Linked DNA regions of Homo sapiens: region 1 is linked to region 2. The links are contacts of gene promoters, found by promoter capture Hi-C in human tissues and cell types (Jung and others, 2019). All regions are on one chromosome and are shown on one strand. Each heading gives the region's core, a stretch centred on a gene start or on the middle of the fragment in contact. The rest is flanking DNA. Distances are from core to core; before and after follow the strand shown.

Region 1 (6,260 bases), core at 3,761-6,260, 750 kb before region 2:
CAGTGAGCTATGATCATGCCACAGCATTCCAGCCTAGGCGACAGAGTGAGACCTTATCTCTTAGAATTTAAAAAAAAATTTTTTTTGAAGGTTTTCTTTCCATCTTCTTGCCCTCGAGCCCTGTGAAAAAGTGGCTTTGAAACATGCATGCCCATCATTGCTTTTCAGATTGGGTAACTCAAGGCGTCCCTGGAGTACACTGAGGATAAGTGTTTGAGAAATGCTGTCTGAAGGAATGAAGTCAGTCTATGACAACGTCTCTCTGCCGTGAATCATTCCTGCAGATGAAAAAGTGTGACTTGGCAGCTGGTAAGTGAATTAATGGACCACGTGAACATGGGTAGATATGAGGCAGTTGTCTGCCACCAGGTGTTTTTTCAAACCTGGACGCCCATGGGCACTGAGTATGCCCGTGGGCACTGGTGAGGACCACATAAAACCGGCTCCCCATGCCCACCCTGGCCCGGCCCTTACGTACATCCTTCCTTGCTGATGAAGGCTCCTTGGGGAGCCTGTGGGATGCCCTTCCACACGGTGATGGGCTTAGGGTAGCCAGGGTCCGTGGCCCGCCGCTCCTCGCTGTAGCGCCAGTACCGCTCGCCTTTGAAAAAGTAGGTCTTGCCCACAGGTTCCCAGCGCAGAGCTGTGTCAATGCCTTCACGGGGCAAACAGCTGCCCAGCTCCCCCAGGCTGTGGGGGTACCCAGGCTCCACCGTCACCTCCTTAAACACCCAATACTTGTCACCTGTGGCCAAGAGGAGCCCAGGATCAGCTTCCCCAGTCACTCAGTGCCGTTTGCCCATCTTCAGGGTGTCAGGTGAAAACAGTCTGATGCCCTCAGCCCCTTGGCCCAGTTAGAGTTGGGAAGGGCACGAAGCCTGAGGCCAGTCACAGATCCTGGACAACTTGCCTCTGCTGCCTGGGCTCCGAGTCCCACCCTCTTTTGTTCATGTGACTTGCTCCTCTCTCCTCTCTGGTGATCTCAGCCACTTACATGACTTTGCATATGCACTACCACTCCCCAAACCTGCTACCAGTGACACCCGACTCTGAGGCTCTCCCACTGGACCTGAGCAGCAGAGCCAGAAACCCTGACCTCCCTCGGCCTACCGGCAGCTCTGCATTGGCTGGCTCCCCAGAGCTCCTCATCTGCACCACAGAGGGGCTCCCTCCTCATCACCTTCTGCCTCCCAGGTCCCCAACAGGGAGTCCTAGCCTCACTGTTGACCCTCTCTTTCCTTCTCCTCTCAGTATTCAGCCACTTCTTTTTTTTAAGATGGAGTTTGGCTCTTGTTGCCCAGGCTGGAGTGCAATGGTGTGATCTCAGCTCACCACAACCTCCACTTCCTGGGTTCAAGCGATTCTCCTGCCTCAGCCTCCTGAGTAGCTAGGATTACAGGCACGTGCCACCATGCTTGGCTAGTTTTTGTAATTTTAGTAGAGACGTGGTTTCACCATGTTGGTCAGGCTGGTCTCAAACTCCTGACCTCAGGTGATCTGCCAGCCTTGGCCTCCCAAAGTGCTGGGATTTCGGGCGTGAGCCACTGCGCCTGGCCGAGTATTCAGCCACTTCTGAGGCCCTCTGACTCTCCTGGCAGCTGTCCCCTGCCCTTCAGCTGCACGGCTCCTCCCTCATTTGGGCCTCATGAGTGGCGCGCTCCAGAACCACCTCAGAAATGGCTGCCCTGCCCCTGCCATGTCTGTCACCTCCTGCCCTCTGGCTCTCTGCTGCTCGGAAACATTCCATGAATTTCCAGCCTTGGCCTAATGGATCAAGACCACATTCTGGCCTGGCAGCCAGGGCTCTTCAGGATTTGCCTCCAAATGACCTTTCTGGGCCATTTCTCACAGCTTTCCAAGGCGGGGCCTCCGTGGCCATCAGGTGGGCCTTCTAAGCCCTGTGGCCGTCCGTACACATCCCAGCCCTGCTCCTTTATTCAGCCGTTGTCCCTCTGGAATGCCTTCCTTGCTTCTCACTATCTGTATCTCACCCATCTGAGGTCTGGCCCGAGTCAAGATAACTGTCATGAAACAACCTAGCACAGTGCTGGGTACAGGGTGGGCACCTTAGCTCCCTCCCACACCCTCCCCCGACCTCCCCAGCTTGAGTGACCTCTTCCCTCTGGGTTCTTACAGAACTGACCCGATGGCCTCCCATGAGGTACTGGGTGGTCTTCAATTGCTTGTCCCACACTCTACTTCATGTGGACGAAGCTGGTCACCCCACCAATCTCGGCACATACAGATTCTCAGTCTCACTTTCTGACTTGATTTGTCAGAGGTCAGTGTCTCCGTTAGACTAGAGGGGCCCTCTGAGGACATCTGCCTCCCACCCCGCCTCTTCCAGTTTAGATGGGAAAAAGGAGGTCCCAAGACCTTGGGCAGGGAACTGTCCCACAGCACAGTCTACATTACCTTTGAAGAAGACAAATCTCCCATCGGCCCTTTCATAGGCTGCGTCGATGCGGGCAGGCAGGCCCTTCCAGAACTGCTCGATCTGCATGGGGTAGCCCTCCTGCACTCGGTTATTGCGCAGACGCCAGAACCAGCGATCCTGGGAGGAAGCGGGAGAGGGGGAGAGAGGTGTGTCAGGCCCTGCCTCCGAACCCAGTGATTGCAGCTGTGGGGCTTAGGTCCCAACAGCCCAGCCCTCCACCGAGACTGTCCATTAGCTGCTTCTGACTTTTAAAGCCCTGGGAGGAAGACAGGATGCTCCTGTAACTGTCTTCAATTCAGCCTCCTGCTGACTCTTGCTGCTGGGTGGACAATGAGACAAACAGCAGACAGGCCTGGTGTGGAAAAGGAGGTGTGAGGGAGCCGGAAAGGATGATGTTGGGGCCTGGAGTGGCCACATGGGGGCAGTGGAGCGTCACTGACATCAGCCAGACTGGTCCTCGGGACAGTGGGAGGCTGGGGTGGTCACTGAGCCTGGGCCGAGCGCCCTCCATGAGGCTGGCTCCATCCAGCAGGGCCAGGATCATGGAAGCCAAGTCATGGGAATTCCCTCGAGACCTGGGCATGAATTCACATTCCTCCATTTATAGCTGCATGACCTAGGCCTCACCTGCAAGTGCAGGTAATAATGGAGAATCAGATGAGAGATTCTAGGCAAAATGCCCAGACCAGTACGGGGCACACAGTCCATGTTGAGTAAATGGCAGCTAAATAGTCCGAGTCCAGTAAAAACGCCTCTTGTAACTGGTGCCTCAGTCTTGGGCTGGTACACAAGCAGTCTAGGCAAGGCCTGTAGCCTCCAGGCCTCAGTTTTCTTTCTTTTTTTTTTTTTTTAGATGGAGTCTCGCTCTGTCACCCAGGCTGGAGTGCAGTGGCGCAATCTCGGCTCACTGCAAGCTCCGCCTCCCAGGTTCATGCTATTCTCCTGCCTCAGCCTCCTGAGTAGCTGGGACTACAGGCGCCCGCCACCACACCCGGCTAATTTTTTATATTTTTAGTAGAGATGGGGTTTCACCATGTTAGCCAGGATGGTCTTGATCTCCTGACCTTATGATCCGCCCTCCTTGGCCTCCCAAAGTGTTGGGATTGCAAGGCGTGAGCCACTGCGCCCAGCCTCCAGGCCTCAGTTTTCTTATGTGTAAATGGGGATGATAAAACCCGGACCTGCCTATGAACGGTTCAGTTGGATCAAAGTAGAATGAGTGCAGAAGAAGAAGCATGATTTGTAAAAGATGGTACAAAAGCTAGTATTTTAAAAGGTGTTTTACAAAGCACTTTCACATCCAGGTTTTTGACCTTATTTTGACTTTCATGTCTCTGTTAAGTTGATCTGAGATATACGGAGTCTTAAGAAAGGCCAGGTGACTTGCCTAGAGCCACTCAGTGAGAAGCCAGACTGGGGCTGACTCACGCTGCCCGATTCCTGCGCAGTGCTCAGTGCGTGCTGGGAGAACTCCACAAGGGGAGCGAGGCAGCCTCTTTCACCATCCTGTGTGATGGAGCCACCCTGCCCAGATCCCCTTCAGAGAAGGGCTTGTTGCCCCAGTGGCCAGCAGTGTGGCCAGCAGGCAGTTTTCAACTGTCAGCCCCTTTGGGGATGTTCCCTGCTTCAGAGAGCTCTCCTCAGTCACTGGATGCCCTTCCTCATCCAGTGATTGAATGAGGTAGGGGTTATAATGTTCCAGATATTTTGGACCCAACGTAGGCTGAGTGACAGGCCACCGTAGCCCCAGAGCTCCCTGCGGGGGTGGCTGAGGCTGCCATGGGCCTCTGTTGCCACTTAACCTCTCCCTCTTCCCTGTCCTGCTTCCTTCTCCCCCTCACAAATGTTGATTCTGAAAGTACTCTCTAATCGAAATCCTGCATTCCAGACCCCACCTCAGAGTTCACTCCCCGAGAGCCCAACCTGCAACACGTCAAGCAGACTGCCACCCTGTCAGTCCATGGCTGATGGAGGACAGATGACAAGATATACCCTGGGCTGCTGCCAGTAGCAGCCCCTCAAGCCTTGGTAGGGTCTGGAGTCAGACTCAGCCACCACTGACCTAGCCCCTACTCCAAGTTGACCATCTTCAGAGCCGGGTACTCACTGGATCTTCACACACTCTTTGTTAGAGGAATGACTCCCCCAGGTTTCGGATGGAGAAACTGAGGTCCCAAGAAGGGTGGTCACAGACCAGAAGCCAGCTTCCAGCACTTTCTCCCAGCATTAACCCCAGGGGAGGTGAGGGATCACCCATCTTTCCCCCTCCCTCTTGGGAACAGTTGATTCACCCAGCAGCACTAGGAAGAGACCCCATGCCCTGGCCACTGGGCTAGCTCCTGTCCAGGCCCCATTGTAATCGAATCCCAAATCAGGAGCCTTCCCCAGCTCCATGATGTCGGGGAGGAGGAGGAAAGGTCAGGGGCCAGCTGGGTGGTGCCAATCCATTGGCCCTACCTTAAAGACAAACATCTCGCCCCGGAAGAGGGCCACTGTGTTGAAGTTGCCGTCACAGATGTTGGGTTTGGTGCCTGGTGTGGATGGCCGGTCCCCGAGGGGCGGCCGAGGGGGCCTGGGCTGGCGCTCGTGTTTCCTCTCCGATGGTGAGTGGATCCTGCGGACGGGGAGTGTAGGGAGTGGCCTTGTGGGCTCCAGAGGCTCGGCTGGGGGTCCTGGAGAGAGGAGCTGCATCTTAGAGAGGGGGCAGCCGTTTCCCGCCTCCCATTGCCAGTCTCAGCATCACCCAGGCAGCTCTGAGACAAGTCTGTCCCAGTTCAGCCTCCTGTTCCCTCTCCCCAGTTTAACTCCCCCAGTCTTTGAGAAAATGGATGAAAATAGCCATTAGAATGGGACTCTCATCTTTCCATCCCCGAATCTGGTATCTTCTCTTTTCTCTCTCCTGTTACAGAGCAATCATGTCCTTCCTTAGGGTCAGCGCTCTTCCTTAGGCCATACCCTCTTTGCCCCCTTCACACGCACTGGCCCCACTTCCTCACCCCCTTCATTTATTCTCTTTCCCACCCCAGTGCAGCTTCTACCCGTCACCCACTCCAACTGCTCTGCCAAGATCATCCAATGGTTACTTGACTCAGACTTTAATAAGCACATGCATCATCTGGGGATGTTGCTAAAATGCAGATGAGGGCTCAGAGGGCCTGGGGTGGGGCCTGAGAGTTTGCATTCCTTCACACTCTCAGGTGATGCTGATGCTGCTGGTCTGAAGACTACATTTTGAGCAGCAAGATTCATAGAAACACTTTCCTGGAAACACTCTCTTGGTTGTCCTCCTGCCTCATGGGCTGTTCTTTCTCAGTCTCCTTTGCTGGCTGCGTGTCCTCATCTGCCCTACTCTAGAGGCTGGCGTGCCCTTGGGTCCTCTTCTCTTCCGTCTCTACATTTTCATCCTTAGGTCAGTGCTTCTTCACTTGGGCTGCATATTAGGATCACCTTTGGGAGCTTTTCAAACTGGATGTTCAGGAAGCACCAGGCCAGCTCTCCAACTTTTTTTTTTTTTTTTTTTTTTTTGAGAAGGAGTCTCGCTCCGTCCCCCATGCTGGAGTGCAGTGGCGTGATCTAAGCTCACTGCAACCTCTGCCTCCCAGGTTCAAGTGATTCTCCTGCCTCATCCTCCCAAGTAGCTGGGACTACAGGCACGTACCACCACACCCAGGTGATTTTTTTTTTTTTTTTTTTTTTTTTTTAGCAGAGATGGGGTTTCACCATGTTGACCAGGCTGGTCTTGAACTCCTGACCTCAAGTGATCCACCCACCTTGGCCTCCCAAAGTGCTGGGATTACAGGCGTGAGCCACCACGCCCAATACC
Region 2 (6,294 bases), core at 3,755-6,254:
ATAGCAAGTCTCTAGTAGGTAGTGCACAAAAGAATACTAGTAGAAAATATGCCTACGAGAAATTACAATCACATCAAACCATGGTCATCATCCCTCACAAACAAATGAAAAATTCAGCTGGGCGTGGTGCTCACACCTGTAATCTCAGCACTTTGGGAAACTGAGGTGGGTGAATCACTTGAGGTCAGGAGTTTGAGACCAGCCTGGCCAACATGGGGAAACCCTGTCTCTACTAAAAATACAAAAATTAGCCGTCATGGTGGCATGGGCCTGTAATCCCAGCTACTCAGGAGGCTGAGGCAGGAAAATTGCTTGAACCTGGGAGGCAGAGTTTGTAGTGAGCTGAGATCGTGCCCTCCAGCCTGGGCAACAGAGTGAGATTCCATTTCAAAAAAAAAAGACAGAAATGAAAAATTATAGCAATGCTGAGGTTTATTTTTAAATGCTGGCATTGTTATTACAAAACTGGCAGGTGCAAGGGCAATACAATCTTGACAAAGCTACAGGACAATATATTGCAAGAACCATAAAAGCACTGGTCCTTCCACCTCAGAAATTATTTTCCTAAGAATTTTATCCTGAGGAAATAATCTAATAAGTAAGTTAAAATGAAACAAAACAAGATATTCACAGAAGCATCATCACAGCACTATTTCTACTAATTAAGAAATGGAAGCAGCCAGGTATGGTGGCTCATGCCTGTAATCCTGGCACTTTGGGAGGCTGAGGCAGGCGGATCACCTGAGGTCAGGAGTTTGAGACCAGCCTGGCCAACATGGCGAAACCCTGTTTCTACTAAAAAATACAAAAATTAGCTGGGCGTCATGATGCACACCTGTTAATCCCAGCTACTCAGGAGGCTGAGGCAGGAAAATCACTTGAACCTGGGAGGCAGAGGTTGCAGTGAGCTGAGATTGAGCCACTGAACTCCAGTCTGGGCAACAGAGTGAGACTCCATCTCTAAAACAAACAAACCAAAAAGAAATGGGAGCAACCCAAATGTACACAGGTAAGATATTTGGCCAATTATGGTACAACTATTTCACCGAGTATTATGTAGTCACTAAGTAGTTAATCACAAAGATGATATGACAACAAGGTTAAATGTTTTTGGATATTAAAACAACAAAAAAAGAAAAAAATCCCCCCAAAACTCAGCATGCATTATCTTGGAAAATATGCATATGTGAACAAAAGAGGAAGGAGAACATACAAAGATGAAAATAGTTATGTGGCACAGTGAAACTGGACGAGGAGAATTATATGTGATTATTTTTTAATTTTATTTATTTATTTTGAGACAGAGTCTTGCTCTGTTGCCCAGGCTGGAGTGCACTGGCCTGGTCTCGGATCACTGCAACCCCCGCCTCCCGGGTTCAAGCGATTCTAGTGCCTCAGCCTCCTGAGCAGCTGGAATTACAGATGCACGGCTTCCGGCTACTTTTCGTATTTTTAGTAGAGACAGAGTTTCACCATGTTGCCCAGGCTGGTCTCCAACTCCTGACCTCAAGTGATCTGCCCACCTTGGCCTCCCAAAGTGCTGGGATTATATGCGTCAGCCATTGTGTCCGGCCAATTATAGATGATTTTTATATCATTATTCTAAAGGTCAGTTTCCACCTAAAATGTAAAATATGCAAGCCAAAAGTGCCACTTGTAGAAATCTATCCTACATAACCACTAGCATGAGTGCAAAAAAGACAAGAACAGTTACTGCAGCAGTGTCTGGAATAAAAAAACTATACACCACCTAAATGTACATATGGGACTAGGATACGATACAGACCTTAAAAAGAATGAAGTGGACCTGCATATAATAACACAGAAAAATGTGTGATATTTTTAAGTGAACAGAACAAGTTGCAGAATAAGATATATACATATATATCTTAAAGTCAACTTCTGTTTTCTCTTATTTTTTTCTCACCCAGGGTGGAGTGCAGTGGTGCAGTCACGGCTCACTGTAGCCTTGACCTCCTGGGCTCAGGCGATCTCTCCACTTCAGCCTTAAAGTAAAGTTAACATATACAAATATATATATATTCCAGTTTCATCTAATAAACAGCTTATACATAAATGTGCTTATGCACCAAACACATCTGGAAGGAAACACACCCAACTGCCAACAGAAGTTGCCACGGGGTAGTAAGATGGGGACCACATAAACTTTCTATATTATATCCTCTGGTACTGCTTCAAATTGTTAACATACATGGTGGTTTACGCCCATAATCCCAGCATTTTTGGAGGCGGAGGTGGGCGGATCACCTGAGGTCATGAGTTTGAGACCAGCCTGGTCAACATGGTGAAACCCTGTCTCTACTAAAAATAGAAAAAAAACCCTGTCTCTACCAAAAATAGAAAAATTAGCCAGGCATGGTGGCATGCTCCTGCAGTCCCAGCTACTCCGGAGGCTGAGGCAGGAGAATCACTCGAACCCGGGAGGCAGAGGTTGCAGTGAGCTCAGATCACACCACTGCACTCCAGCCTGGGCGAAAGGGCAAGACTCTGTTTCAAAAGAAAAAAAAAAAAAGTTAAACTAGGCATCTAAATTTGCATTGCTTTTATGAGTATAACCACGGAGTAGCATAATACAGGTTCTAGAAAGCTACAGTTTAAGTAAGAAAAAGGGGGGCCATATAAGTGCTTGTATAGATGCATAAGAAACTAACAGCTGGGTGTGGTGGCTCACGCCTGTAATCCTAACACTTTGGGAGGCCAACGTGGGTGAATCACTTGAGCCCAGGAGTTCAAGACCAGCCTGGGCAACATGGCAAAACCCCAACTCTACAAAAAAAAAATACAAAAAAATTAGCAGGGTGTGGTGGCGTGCACCAGTAGTCCCAGATACTTGGGGAATTAAGGCAGGAGGATCACTTGAGCCCAGGAGGGTCAAGTTTGCAAGAAAAAAAAAAAAAGAAACTAACAATGGTTGTTTCTAAAGGAGGAGAGACTGAGACTGGGGGTTAGGAGAGTGGGAATTTTATTTTTCACTTAGATCCTTTTACATCATTTATTTTTTTACTGTGTGCAAGTATTACCTGTAAACAATCCTAAAATTCGTATGGAACCACAAAAGACTCAGAAAAGCCAAAAGAAGCCTGGACGAAAAGAACAAAGCTTGAGGTATCACACTACCTGATTTCAAAATATACCAGAAAGGTATAGTAACCAAAAGAGCATGGTATTGGTATAAAACACAGACCAATGGAATAGAATAGAGGACCCAGAAATAAATCCACTTATTTACGGCCAACTGATTTTCGACAAAGGCATCGAAAAAACAAAACAAAACAAAAACAACAACAAAAACGAAAAAAAAAACCTACCATAAATCAGCAATACCACTACTGGGTATTTATTCAAAGGAACGGAAATTAGTACATCAAAGGCATCCCTACATCCTCATGTTCATATTGCAGCACTATTCATAATAGCTAAATTATGGAATTAGCGTCCATCAATAGGTAAATGGATAAAGAAAATGTGGGCCAGGCGTGGTGGCTCACGCCTGTAATCCCAGCACTTTGGGAGGCTGAGGCGAGCAGATCACGAGGTCAGGAGATCGAGACCACCGTGTTGAGGCGGACTAACACGGTGAAACCCCGTCTCTACTAAAAATACAAAAAATTAGCTGGGCGTGGTGGTGGGCGCCTGTAGTCCCAGCTACTCGGGAGGCTGAGGCGGGAGAATCACTTGAACCTGGGAGGCGGAGGTGGCAGTGAACTAAGATGGTGCCACTGCACTCCAGCCTGAGCGACAGAGACACACTCCATCTCAAAAAAAAAAAAAAAAAAAGAAATAATGAATGTTTAAGGTGATGGATATTCTATAATAAATATAGCCTGATTTGATCATTACACATCATATGCATGTATCAAAATATTACATGTATATCTACAACATAAATGTGTACAACTATTATATATCAATTTTTTTTACAGCTTAAGAAGTGATGTGAAAAATGAAGTTATACATATTTGAAGCATTATTACATGTTTGTAATGATGTGGAGATATTGTGGTGTAATAATGAAAAACACAGAACCCACAATTGCACATTCAATAGGGGCTAAACTGTATAAACCAAAAACAAGCAAAAAAGACTAGAAGTCATATGACTACTGTAAGTGGTTGCCTCTAGGTGATGACACGGTTTCTTTTTTCAATTTTTTTATTACAAGCTCTAGATTTCTAAATAAGATTTTTGAAAAAGTAATATATTCACATGGCTTAAAATTTGAAACTTTTTCAAATTTTGCCCAAGCTGTGAGGATTACAAACACAAAACCTGTAACGGCGTTGAGAACCCACAGCTGCAGCAAGCAAGGTAGAAAGCAAGCTTTGGGATCCCCAAGAGCAGACCCCGCCCGTTCCTGACTCTGGCACCCAGTCCCAGCGGCTAGAAAGAACCACGCCGACAGAGTGGCGGCCGTCAAGCTTCTAGGGTTCAAATCCATCTCCACTATTTCCTGGGGCAAAGCACTTGGCTTCTCGGGGCGCTGAATAACAGATATGTATAACAAAATGGGACTAAAGATTGTATCTACCTCACAGAGCTGGGAGGAGGCGGAGGAAATACAAGATACATAAAGTGCTTGGCAGAGCCTGCCACAAACTGAGCTCCCGGGAAACGTTGCCAGGGTTGCCATCGCGCACCAAGGCCCCAAAACTCTAGGCTGCAGGGCCGCCGCCCACCCCTCGCCCATCATCTCTTCCTGGCCGAGGCTGGGCTCCCGCTTCCGGTCAAGGGGCAGCGGGATCCGGCGGCCCCGCCTCGGTCAGGCTTTAGAGGCCTCCGCCGCCGGGTTCCACCCTCAAGTCGGCTGGGGCCCGGGCCCGGCCACGCCCAGCCACCACCGATTCCCTGTCCGGAGCTCTGAGATCCCCTCATCCTCGGAAGACTGAAGGCCTGGCGTGGGGTGGTGGGCGGCCGCCAGCCACAAGACCCCGGCGCACGCTCACCATTTCCGACCGATCCGGTAGCCCCGCGTAGCGAACACTTAGCGAGTCCTGTGCCTTTCTGCGCCTGCGCAAAGGTTTCTGTCAAAACGGACAGCTCTAGCTGCCTATCAGGAGCCAGCGTGAGGCGGGGGCGGGCGAGCCGATCTTGGCTCCGCCAGGATTCTTGGAAAATCTGCTTTCCACTGTGGCAAAGCGAAAAGCTAAGGAGCAGTGCGCTAAGCTGTGGAAAATTCCCAACTCCAGCCGTGCAGAAAAGATGCTGGTTCTGGCTGGACGCGGTGGCTTACGCCTGTAATTCCAGCACTTTGGGAGGCCGAGTCGGAAGGATTGCTTGAGCCCAAGAGTTCGAGACCAGCCTGGGCAACATGGAGAGACCCCTTCTCTACTAAAAAATAAACAAAATTAGCCGGGCGTGGTGGCGCGCTCGTGTAGTTCCAGTTACTCCAGAGGCTGAGGTAGGAGGATCGCCTGACCAGGAGTTCGAGGCTGCAGTGAGCCGAGATTGCGCCACTGCACCCCAGCCTGGGCGACAGAGCAAGAGACCCTGACTAAAACAAAACAAAACAAAAACCATGCTGGTTCTCGGTATCGGAAGAGGCTTTCAGTGCTGGTTCTCGGTATCGGAAGAGGCTTTCAGCTCTCAATGGAGGTCTAAGCTGGTTCTGGAGTCCCTGAGTGGAGCGTGGTGGGAGGGTATGAAGGCAAGTGGGACGGTTGCTGAGACCCGCTTTGCGCCCAGACTGAGCCAGAGAGAGGCCCAGGGCCAAAATGCGCTTCGGGATCGGGCAGGCCTGGGGTGGGGCTGGAGTCAGGTACCTCGAGTCTCCGGGTAAGATGCCGTGCAAGCTCGGAGATGAATTGGTTAGGGCTGGCCTGGGAGTCTTTAGAATCCGAGCTCAGCCCCGCCTCGCGTTACCTAGCAGAAGGCACTTCACATCTGTGTGTTCTGTCTTGTTCTCACCTCTGAAAGGGGGACTCTTCCCAGAGCCCTATGTTGTCCTGTTCCGGCAGGCCGCAAACGTTTCTGGGTCCTCTAGGAGTAAATAACTTCTGTTAAAACATGCTGCCGTTTAGTGAACCCTGTGCCACATTACTGTGCTGAACACGCACATAACGTTATCTCCGGTAGCTTCAGGGAAGTATCGGTAACCTCGATACTTTATAAATGCTGTTTCTCCCAGGCACTGTAGCTTGCTGGATTCAACGATGATCTAACTCCAAAGTTTCATTCCACAGTAGCTGCTCTTCAGTGAGGAAGGATTTGGTTCTCCTTCCAGGAGTGTCTGCATGTTAAGAGGATTGACTTTACTGCGAAGAAACCTAGCAGACA

Evidence for each region. Contacts are between HindIII fragments. The study calls those that stand out against the background at their distance.
Region 1: a fragment that was not itself captured here is called in contact with the fragment with the promoter of DYNLRB1 in region 2 in 1 of the 25 tissues and cell types used here (lymphoblastoid cells).

What each region holds. Positions count from the first base shown.
Region 1 is chr20:35,266,054-35,272,313 of GRCh38, reverse strand. MMP24-AS1-EDEM2 (MMP24-AS1-EDEM2 readthrough) reads left to right here. Exons shown (of 15, transcript NM_001355008.2): 2 at 169-309. MMP24 (matrix metallopeptidase 24) reads right to left here. Exons shown (of 9, transcript NM_006690.4): 6 at 4,895-5,109; 7 at 2,416-2,554; 8 at 479-745. Among named protein-coding and RNA genes, the nearest start is that of MMP24-AS1-EDEM2, 8.9 kb to the left of the region's middle. The HindIII fragment of the contact is 9,806 bases long and covers 108-6,260 here.
Region 2 is chr20:34,515,132-34,521,425 of GRCh38, reverse strand. DYNLRB1 (dynein light chain roadblock-type 1) reads right to left here and starts at 5,004. Exons shown (of 4, transcript NM_014183.4): 1 at 4,965-5,004. The coding sequence starts at 4,967. RefSeq lists enhancers at 4,473-4,652, 4,319-5,184, 5,573-5,812, 5,923-5,982 and a silencer at 5,003-5,112. The HindIII fragment of the contact is 11,693 bases long and covers 3,732-6,294 here.